2 separate regions of the Homo sapiens genome follow, and region 1 is linked to region 2. Evidence: promoter capture Hi-C in 16 types of primary human blood cells and fetal thymus (Javierre and others, 2016). All regions are on one chromosome and are shown on one strand. The core of a region is centred on a gene start or on the middle of the fragment in contact, and the rest is flanking DNA. Distances in the headings are between cores, read along the strand shown.

The links. Contacts are between HindIII fragments. The CHiCAGO score rates a contact against its expected background, and 5 or more counts as called.
Region 1: a fragment that was not itself captured here is called in contact with the fragment with the promoter of RPS6KC1 in region 2 in 1 of 17 cell types (monocytes); the score reaches 6.7 in monocytes.

Annotation. Positions count from the first base shown.
Region 1 is chr1:212,031,117-212,036,479 of GRCh38, reverse strand. It overlaps INTS7 (integrator complex subunit 7), which reads left to right and starts at 923. Exons shown (of 20, transcript NM_015434.4): 1 at 923-1,136. The coding sequence starts at 1,043. DTL (denticleless E3 ubiquitin protein ligase adapter) reads right to left here and starts at 732. Exons shown (of 15, transcript NM_016448.4): 1 at 538-732. The coding sequence starts at 589. RefSeq lists enhancers at 1-447, 463-702, 448-984, 863-1,072. The HindIII fragment of the contact is 1,190 bases long and covers 1,009-2,198 here.
Region 2 is chr1:213,049,281-213,054,973 of GRCh38, reverse strand. It overlaps RPS6KC1 (ribosomal protein S6 kinase C1), which reads right to left and starts at 3,733. Exons shown (of 15, transcript NM_012424.6): 1 at 3,465-3,733. The coding sequence starts at 3,569. RefSeq lists a silencer at 3,505-3,604. The HindIII fragment of the contact is 5,380 bases long and covers 1-3,745 here.

The DNA.
Region 1 (5,363 bases), core at 354-2,853, 1.0 Mb after region 2:
AATTTAAATTTTTATGACCGTGTAGTAAACGGGGAAAATAAGATTTTGTTCCTGTTAGAAGCAGATATCCTGTCTTCTCTGCTTGACTGAGTTCCTTAACAGCGGGTCATATTCACTGGTATATACCTATAGCACATAGCTGGGCTCACTAAGATTCTACAACAAACGAATGAATTAATCAATGATTAGGAGTTTTGAGCATCTCAAATAACCGTTGAAGGAAACATATACACACAAATGCATGCATTTTCCCGTTAACGCGCAATGGAGATGTAAGCTGTAAGGGGCCTTGGAAGGCAGTTATTTCGACGTCCCTGCCTACGTTACGATTTTAAAAGCCCGATTACGATTACAAGTGTCCCGAGGGGATGAAAGTACAGCTTTCTTTAGTAGTCCCTGCTAACACTAATTTACCCTTGCCATGGGAGAACTCAGAAGCTGAGTTCAGAATTGGAGTCGGCCCTGGTCGGAGGTGGCGTGTGTTTCGGGGGAAATGAATTCCGCCAGCTCCGAGCAGCGGTTGGGACCGTTACTCACCATTTCTCAGGACGCCAAGCTGGGGCTGGCGGAGCACCGAATTGAAGAGCATCAGGGTCGGAGGAAAAGCCTCAGCTGAGAGAAAAGTCGTAGAAATGCCTCCAAGTTCAGCAGAAATCGCAGCTTGCGCCTCTCACAACACAAATCGTTATCGCCTCCAACTCCCGCCACTGTAAGCCCCGGCCGCCAAACTCCGCGCCAAACTGACGTCACGCTCTCTGATTGGCTTCCGAGCGACGTCCGGGCGCCTCAGAGTCATTTCCCCCTTCGGATCCCCGCCTCCTTTTCTCCCAGCCGCGGGAACCTGGAGTCCAAGAGCTCCTTGAGCGCCTGCGCAGGGGGTAGCAGAGGCGCGGACAAACCGCGGGGTGACCAGGGCGCATGCGTAACAGGGCTTGACAGCGCGCGGAAGAAAAACCAGCAAGAAGGCGGCGGGGGAAGATGGCGGTCCTGGGGTAGAGTTTGCAAGCTTTCTGACTAGGCTAGTCGAGTAACTATTCGGGTCATGGCGTCAAACTCAACTAAGTCTTTCCTGGCAGATGCCGGCTATGGCGAACAGGAACTGGATGCCAACTCTGCCCTTATGGAATTGGACAAAGGTATTCGAAAGAGAGGGCTGAATGGGTGAAACAGGCGTGGGGGGAAGTGGCGCCACCAGGTGGTGGTTGCTTTGGGAGAAGACGGATAGGCGCATGCGCATGTCTTCGCTGGGCGGGGAGCGCCTGTGCTTTTGCTGGGGCGTGGGCTTTGACCCCTTCGGGAGGTTGCGGGAAATTTGCAGGATTGTGTGACTGGCCTTATACCGGCTAAACAAGTAGCGAGCTCTAGTGAGAGGCCCGTTTTGACCACTTGAGGGAGCAGTCCCCCGATTTTCTAAGCAGTGACAGTGGCTAGTTTCTAAGAGACACTGCAAAGAAATTGTGAAATTGGTTTTCAGTCTGTTCAGTTGAGACCAGGTCTTCATGAAATGTGCTGAATAGTAATCTTGCACCGACTTGACAGCGATTCATTTGATTTCCATAGCTCTGTTACCTGCGGGTTACAAGGCAGGCTAAACCTGGCCAAGACCATAAAAAAGCAAGGGCCCTGCTCATTCTCTGCGGACAAGTTCCAGGAGTTCTGTTGCCGTACAGGGAGCAGCTTGGTGTAGAGGGAGCTTTGGGGTTACACTGAGTTAAGTTTCAATGCCGCTGATTTTATGATTAACTTCATCTAGCCTCGGCTTGTCGTCTGCAAAGTGGGTACAGTACCATTGAGCCGGCAGAATTGTATTAAGTGACTTAATGGTATGCAAAAGAAGCATTTAGTAAATGCTGAAGAGATATACCTCCCTTCTTAGATGTGGATATGGGAGGCAAGGTCGGAAATTTGTTAGTAAAGAACTCGACTAGTAATATGAAACCTTTATTTCATATTGAGGATTTTTATTGTACGGGAAACATTTCGGCAGCTGGTATACAATTAAATCTTGATTAATCGTAGCCAATATATAATGTTGGAGAACTGGACTAGAACTCAGAAGGGTTTGAGCCACTTCCCAGTTTTCTGAGTTGGACATGTCTATTAACTTTTTTGGGACTCTTTTTCTGTTTATTTTTTAAACTGTGAATATTTTTAGTGGGTTAGTCTAAATAAGAGTTTCTCAGGCTCTTAAAAAAGCTTTTACCTTATTTTGATAAACACAAAAATTTCACAGCCCCCTAATGGGATATTCCTTTGGTTGAGTCTCAGTATCTTTAGTGCACCCCCATCAACCAAGAAAATTATGTTGAACTTTTCCTTCTCTTACCAAATCTTTAGGGGTTTTCTCCTCTGAAAAAAAAAAGTATAATACTAAATGTGTTTTTCTCTTTTTTTTTGGAGACAGAGTGTTGCTCTGTTGCCCAGGCTAGAGTGCAGTGGCGCCATCTCGGCTCACTGCAACCTCCGCCTCCCGAGTTCAAACGGTTCTCCTGCCTCAGCCTCCCGAGTAGCTGGAATTACAGGCGCCCGCCACCACGCCCGGCTAATTTTTGTATTTTTAGTATAGACGGGGTTTCACCATGTTGGCCAGGCTGGTCTCCAACTCCTGACCTCAGGTGATCCGTCCGCCTCGGCCTTCCAAAGTGCTGGGATTTACAGGCATGAGCCACCGCGCCCGGCCTTAAATGTGTTTTTCAAACACTTTCCTCCTCATTCTGATACATTTCTTTCTTATTCCTCAGTGAAAGTTACAGGTCAGGATAATATCTAATATCCCTACGAGTTCTAAGGACATTTTCTACCATTCTGGTGCAGCTGAGCTTGTCTCATGCTGACAATAGGATAGTGGTTGTGGAACAGGGATAAAGATGGGGCACTGAAGAGGAGTCTAGAATGGTTTAATTCCTCAAATTTTGCAGTTGTAAGAAAAAAACCACAATTTTTCCTTTTTAAAGAAGAGTTGAAATGAAAATATTTTATATCTATAGGAAAGAAATCAGGTGTCAATCTTAGACACAGAGTAAGTGATCATTTGCACTCCTCCCAGCAATGCCTGGCGTGAGTGTTTTACAGGTGAATCTCAGGCTCAGAAAGATGACTTGTTCTTTTTCATCTCATCTGTAGTAACTTTTAAAGCTGTTAGGAAATTAAGTTATAGAAATAGCCAGTTTCGTGTAGAATATAGTTGAGTATTTTAAATATTGAGTCATTTCATCTTGTACCTGTTAAAGTATTTCTGTTTTGTGAGCTAAAGGTCAGAAGGCTACAAGTTCCAACTCTTTTTTTCGTTCCCAAACTCCAAGGAATACTGTTTCTGAAATATCTCCCCCACCTCAGCATACACACTCAGACACATGACTTATTTGATCGGGCTTTGTACTAGGAACATGGCAGTTAATGAGACAAAACTCCTGCCCCTATAGAGCTTACATTCTAGACAGCAGATGCAGACACTCCGCAAATATAGCAAACGTGACAGTTAGTGATACATATTATAAAGGAAAATGAAGCAATGAAAGGGACTGGAGAAAACTGATCTGGGGCTGGAGTTGATTTCTTATTTTATGAAGTATAGGCAAGAAAGACCTCCTCAATCAAGTGGAAGAACAGCAAGTACAAAGGCCCTGAGGTAGAAGCCTCCTTTGCATGCAGTTATCTGGAGCAAAGTAATAGGCAATGAGTATAGAAAGATAACCAGAGTCAGTCGGGCGTGGTGGTTCACGCCTGTAATCCCCGCACTTTGGGAAGCTGAGGCGGGCGGATCACGAAGTCAGGAGATCGAGACCATCCTGGCTAACATGGTGAAACCCTGTCTCTACTAAACAAAATACAAAAAATTAGCCAGGCGTGGTGGTGGGCACCTGTAGTTCCAGCTACTTGGGAGGCTGAGGCAGGAGAATGGCGTGAACCTGGGAGGCGGGGCTTCCAGTGAGCCGAGATCACACCACTGCACTCCAGTCTGGGCAACAGAGCAAGACTGTCTCGAAAAAAAAAAAAGAAAGATAACCAGAGTCCCGTTCAGGTAGGGCCGTGCAAGCCATCAAAAGGACTGGCTTTCATTCTGAGTGAGAAAGGAAACCATGGAGGATTTTCAGCAGGTGTGTGACATGATCTGACTTTCCTTTGAAAAGTATCAGTCTGGCTACTGTGCTGAGAATAGACTGAAGTGGGGAGGGTCAGGGACCCAAGTAGGGAGACCAATGAGAAGGCAACTATAACAATCCAGGGAAAAGAAAATAGTGGCTTAGACCGAGATGGTGACACTGAAAATGTGTGAAGTGCTGAGATTCTGGATATACTTTCAAAGTAGAGCCAAGAAGATTTGCTAATGGATTAGATGAGGATATAAGAGTAAGTGGTCAAGAAAACTTAGAGGTTTTTGGTATGAGCTACTGGGAGGATGTATGTATTGTTTACTGAAATCAAATCAGTTTGGGTCATGTTAAATTTGAGATGTCTCTTAGACATCCAAATGGAGATGATTAGTCAGTTAGGCATAAGATGTAACCTTTGAACGCTATTTTAAAGAAATATTTTGTGGCACTGGTGTCCTTAGAAACACACTCAGGAAATGCTGCCATTCATAACCTGTTATATATTTATAACTGTTGTACTTTATTCTGAGCCTTTTGAGCAAGCATTGGCAGTAAGCTGATTGTTTCTGATCTCTATAGGAATAAGTGAATACTATTTTGAAGCTGACTCAATTCCATTACTTTAGGATGTAGTTAGTAACAGGAAAATCATCCTTCATGTGATAGCCATTCATTTACTCAACAGATATTTACTGACCACCTGCATTGTCTCAGGCTCTATACTCAGACTAGGGGCTATGTTGGCAAACAAGACATCTTTAAGGAGATTGCATACAAATGTAAGGAGATGGACAATGCTAGATCAAATGTGGTGCCGTTAGTCAGGACAAGAAGTTGGATTTTGTGCAGAGTGCAATGGGAAGGCATTGAAAGTTGTAGGCTGATGGCCATGCTGCTTGAGCTTCTGTAAGACTGAGCATACACAAGCAGAGTTAAGTGTCATAATCAAATACATTACAGCTTATGTTTATCTGACACATTTCATGATATGATCATTACTATACATAATTGGCAATATAAAGGATGCATCTCACAAAAATTAGTGTAACTTTTTCACTAATATAATTTCTTAGTCTAAACATTTTTAGATCAGCTGATGGAAGGTTATCCTGATGATTTGGGAAAACTTATGCAAGATCTCCTTCCCCCTGGGAAAAGAGGAGTCTCTTAAATGATATTATTCAGCCTATCTGCCTTCTGCAATGTTGACCTTGGAAAGGATGAGATGAAAGCAATGGGGAAGAGAGCAGTGACTCATTCCCTTTCTTG
Region 2 (5,693 bases), core at 2,484-4,983:
CTGAGAAATCTATACTACAATATGAGAATTTTGTAAACTTAGCATGATGAAATAACTGAAAACACTGCTGATGGTTCTCTTACACTTGTGTCTCCTTCAACTAAAGAATCAAAGGGAACTTATGAAAGAATTTTCCAATTCTGAATAGAGGTACTTATTCTACATAAAAATTAAGAAATAACACTGAGTTTAACTGCAGAATCTGTTAGTATGCTTGCAACTGGCCTCAAAATCATCTAACCTTGCCAGATTTCAGAGAACTGCAAAAAAGCACAAAGGAGATTTAAGAAGATGAAAAAGCTCTTTTGCTATCCAAAATTTAACATTGGTACTTCCAATGATTAAAACTCTACTCCTACAGAAATAACCCTGCAAGGATCAAAAATATAGAAAATTGTTCCTTGAAGCTAGAAGTAAATCAGTAGTAGAAAATATACAGAAGACATTCTTAATTTTTATCTCATGAAGTTCTCTCAGGAGAGCACTATTTACCTGGTTAATTATCCTGAAAAAAGGTGTTTTTCTCCTTAACTCTCAAGAAATATTTTATAATACTAAGCACAGTTATTTTAAAAGTATGTCTCCACGTTGACTCTCAGACCTTACATTTTAAAAACAAAATCTGTAACATAAGCAATAAATGAAGACATAAATATTTACGGGAAGAAAAAAGGCAGTCTGTGCAATTTTCAAGTTCAAATAACCAGAGCAATATGTAACATGCATATATATAAATGTGGTTAGTTCTAAGGCAATGTGCTACTTTATCTTCTAGTTTATATTGTCAAAACTTAGCTCAGTAAATAGGTCACAGCTTCAGATATTTAAGATCTGAATTTGGCCAATGCGGTGGCTCACGCCTGTAATCCCAGCACTTTGGGAGGCTGAGGTGGGTGGATCACCTGAGGTCAGGAGTTCGAGACCAGACTGGACAACAAGGCGAAACCTCGTCTCTACAAAAAATAGACAAATTAGCCGGGTATGGTGGAGGGCGCCTGTAATCCCAGCTACTTGAGTGGCTGAGACAGGAGAATCACTTGAACCCAGGAGGCGAGGTTACTGTAAGCTGAGATAGCGCCACTGCACTCCAGCCTGGGCAAGAGAGCGAGACTACGCCTTGGAAAAAAAAAAAAAAAATTCTGAATTTGGTTAACCTTTCCTTTTGTAAAGTAACAATACAAATAATTATACTCAGTGCTTCCAATTCCAGTTCCACACACATTCATACCTCCAGGTCTTTATGGACTCTACCCCTTCAACTGTCTACCTTTTCATACCCTCTCCTTTTCTGGATTCTTCCCCTCTTTCAACTATCTTGATTGGTACATATTCCCCAATCTCTTGATCCAGAAGCAATCTGTCTTCCCACAGCCCTTTTCTGTAGTGTCTGCTGGAACTTCCTGTGTTATATCACACTTAAGTATACTAAACTCTCTTCTACTATGAGTATCCTTGAAAGGAATAAAGATCCCTGCTTTATTCAGCCTTATGTCCCTCAGTATTTAGTGCCTGGATCTAAACATTTATTGGGTGTGCTCCGTACAATGAAGAGGAAAACATTCAACAATGTTTTTCAGGCACTGTGTGCCATGCACATGCATGTTCTTTTATCTATTATTTGATATAAGCAGAAACAAATGCCAATGATAGAGAACTGCTCTAAATCCACTAAGAGACACAGACATGCAACTAAATTAATACAATATAACTTTCCTGTTAAATTAACGGATAAGTAGGATGCTGTGAGAGAAACATTACGTATGTTGAAAACTGTTCTGATTCCATACACTATGTGTTAGGAAACTAAGCCTAGATTTTCAAAGGGCCCAATGACTAGAAAGGTTTCAAGAGTGGTATAATAAGGGCCCCTCACTCTCACAAAATTTCTTACACAACCTGAAACTAACATTCCACCCATGTAACAACCTTAAGTGCAAGCAGGGAGCAACAAACATCCCTCTATTCTCCGAACAGCAATCGGCAATAGCAGGTCAGGTCTTCTCATTATCTTTATACAGACATGTTCATCTATCCCTCCTTCTCACATTTATCTGAATTGTGCACCATTTCCATACATCACGTGCCACTCCCATGCCCCAAACTGATCTATTTAACCTTTAAGATTCTTCTCAGGCTGGGTGTGGTGGCTCATGCCTGTAATCCCAGCACTTTGGGAGGCCGAGGCAGGCGGATCAACTGAGGTCAGGACTTCGAAATGAGCCTGAGCAACATGCAGAAACCCCATCTCTACTAAAAATACAAAAAATTATCAGGGCATGGTAGCACATGCCTGTAATCCCAGCTACTCGGGAGGCTGAGGTAGGAGAATCGCTTGAACTCAGGAGGCAGAGGTTGCGGTGAGCAGAGATCATGCCATTGCACTCCAGCCTGGGCAACAAGAGCGAAACTCCGTCTCAAAAAAAAAAAAATTATTCTGAAGGCCTGCTTTACATCCTCCAAATGTATATTGAACTACTGTTACTTAATCTGTACCTCTCTTCTTTAAAAATTGATAAAGTTAATTATTAACATTTTATATAACTTGGAGTTAGGCAAAACTGGTTTCAGATCCCAGACAGATCTGCTACTGCCTTGCAATGTAAAGTTGGGCAAGTTACTAAACTTGCTTTAATCTATTTCTTCCTCATTAAAATGAGAATTAAATTGGGTGATGTGCATAAAATGCCTACTATACACATATATTCATGCACACATACGTCACATACATATATACTTATTTAATTTTGATTTATTCTTACTTTCCTAGAAGATGCAGACTCTCTTTAAAACTCAAGGCAAAAGCAATGAAACATAAAGTGGGTACTAAAAATTGGACCAGTTAGTTGATGTAAAGGAGCCTCCCAACTTTAAAATGTGCCCTCATGGTAGCTCACACAAGCCACCCTCAGCAGATTTTTTTCACGTCTCCTACTGAAAAACATGAAAAACTCAAAGGTTTGACAAAGCCCGGATCCACAGTTCCTAGGTTGGTGGCCTAACACTGACATCTGTCCCAAGAATCTGTCTTTCTCACAGCAAACCTGATAAAGGTCAAGAGAAAAAACAACTTATATTACATAAGCCAAACAATACATAAATTAACACTTTTTAATCTGCATTATCTTCCTGGAGCAAGCAAAACCACTTCTGCAAATTGCGAACTCAGAAGAGAAAGTCCAAACGGGATGGGAACTGAGTCATCAATTTAAAACCATCAACCACTGACTGCCCCACCCCCAGAAAGAGGACTCTACCACGACCTACTACAGTGAAGCCCTGGGCATATCACACTCAGCCACTACTCTAAAAATCCCAACCTCCGACACCCAAGTCCCGCCAGTAGGAGCAGCACCCAGTCCCACCCTCGGCTCTGAGCCAGAGTCAGGTACCCTCACATCAGGGTCCCCACCCCAGATCCTCAGGTCCCAATCCAAGCTCTACCCCAGCCCGACACCGGCACTCACCCGGGCGGTGACCTTATATACTGTGTAGCCCCTCGGGTGTCGCTGGGGCTCGGTGACAGTGTAGAAACGGGCCAGGTCGGCACTCCGCTCCCGGTAAGAGGTCATCCTCCCGCCGCCTCTGCCGCCGCCGCCACCCGCCCGGGATCATGAGGGAAACCCGGCGCCGCCGCGGTCCAGGTTCCCCAACGCAGCGGCGAAGCGGCGAGGGGGCGGTGGCTCCAAGGCGGCTCCACGGCGGCGCCTCAGCTGCACAGCTCTGCTTCCGGGTCAGCAGAGAAGCTTCCGGGCCAGGCTATCTCCCGCTTCTAGGGGGAGGGGAGACTCCTCCTTAGATTCTAGCCCCTTTGGGGCACCTGGGACTGGCCTGTAGTTGAAGACTAAGGGGTCGCGCTGCCACCCCCGTCACTGCGGAGACCTCAGGCCTCTCCACTAAAGACGACCTCTTGTACGCTAGCTCCGTCACCTTTTATGAGATTTTATGAGAGTTGGTATAGCCACGCCACACCGGGAGAGCGTGGTCCTCCCTGCCTCCGCCCCGCCGTGGTACAAACTTAAGTGGAGTGTTGAAGGGATGGAGAGATACCATAGCCTAGCACCTTCTTTCCTTACCTATTCACAGCCTATCATTTTAAATACCCACAGCAACATCTCATTCTCTGAGACATATCCCTTACTTCTTTCTAAGACGAATTTCCTTCCATTGAGCGCCTTTCTGTAACACATCTGCACAGCAAGCCCCCAACCCAAAAAAGCTCCCAAGCCAATATCAATCTTTTAAAAATCCCCACAGGTTCGAAAATCTGGAGTCCGCCTCTGGCTAGAAGAAAGAAATATGTCACTCGACCTCTCCGAGTCACTCACTACAGTTTCCAATTTCAGCTGAGGTTGTTATCAACGCTTGGCAGTTCCTTTATCTTTTTGTGATCAAGGTTCCTTTTCATTCCACAAAATATTCATGCCAAGTCTTTGCCATTATCCTAAAGACTCTGTTCCTCTTCCTTTTGCCTCCCTACTCTCCGCACCACCACTCTTCTTTACAGGGAAAAAAGAAGAGGAAGAAGCAGCTATGGCCCTTAGTACCAATTCCTTTGTCTTCTCACATTTCCATGCCAGTCTGAAACGTACACATATCACTTGCTCATTTTTACAGCTAATGACTCCACATGTGATCTGAATCCCATCCTCTTTGGCAAACCTTAAGACACTGTTTCAATGACATTCCAAATCTCCTTTCTGTATGTTTAATCTCTTTCTCACCACTGGCTCCTTCTTTTCAACCTACATATATCTAAGTCTATTAGTCATTCATTAAACCTGAATTCACCACCTACTATGTGCCAGACATGATGCCAATTTGGCATTGGAGTTACAAAGATAGTCCCTGTTCTCCGACCGGGCGCGGTGGCTCACGCCTGTAATCCCAACACTTTGGGAGGCCGAGGCGGGCGGATTACCTCAGGTCAGGAGTTCGAGACCAGCCTGGCCAACATGGTGAAACCCCGTCTCTACTAAAAATACAAAAAATTAGCCAGGCGTGGTGGCAGGCGCCTGCAATCCCAGCTACTTGGGAGGCTGAGGCAAAAGAGTCGTTTGAACCCGGGAGGTGGAGGTTTCGGTGAGCCAAGATCGCACCATTGCACTTCAGCCTGGGGGACAAGAGCAAGACTTCTCTCAAAAAAAAAAAAAAAAAAAAAAAGGTAGATAGTCCCTGTTCTCAAGTACCATCTAGTAGGAAAAATAAAGACACAAAATATACTGTGATAAGTACCATGGTGAATGTATATATGGAGTACTAAAGAGCACATCAATTCAGGATGGAAGATCGCCTAAGGCTTTCTGATAGAAGACTGAGTCTTGGAAGAGAGATGGGAGTTAGCCAGGAGAGAAGGGAGTAAAGGGCATTATTCATTTTGCCTTCTTTTCTTCCTTTCTTTCTCCTTCCACTCACCGTCAAAGTTGTTTAAGTTGATTTTAAAGTAATCTACATCAACATTGCATCATCACCCATTTATTCCCATGTCCAATTCAATCTGGTTTCACCTCTATATTGCTACTCTGAAACTGCTCTGAAAACAGTTTCCAGTGACCTCAATTTGCCCAATATTTCTGGATTTTGAAAGTCTCTGACCATTTCTACCTTTTTAAAACTTTTGTATATTCTTAGCATATGAGTCAGCATTATTTCTCTTTTCTCTTTTATACTCAGATGACTTGCTCTTTTTTCAGTCT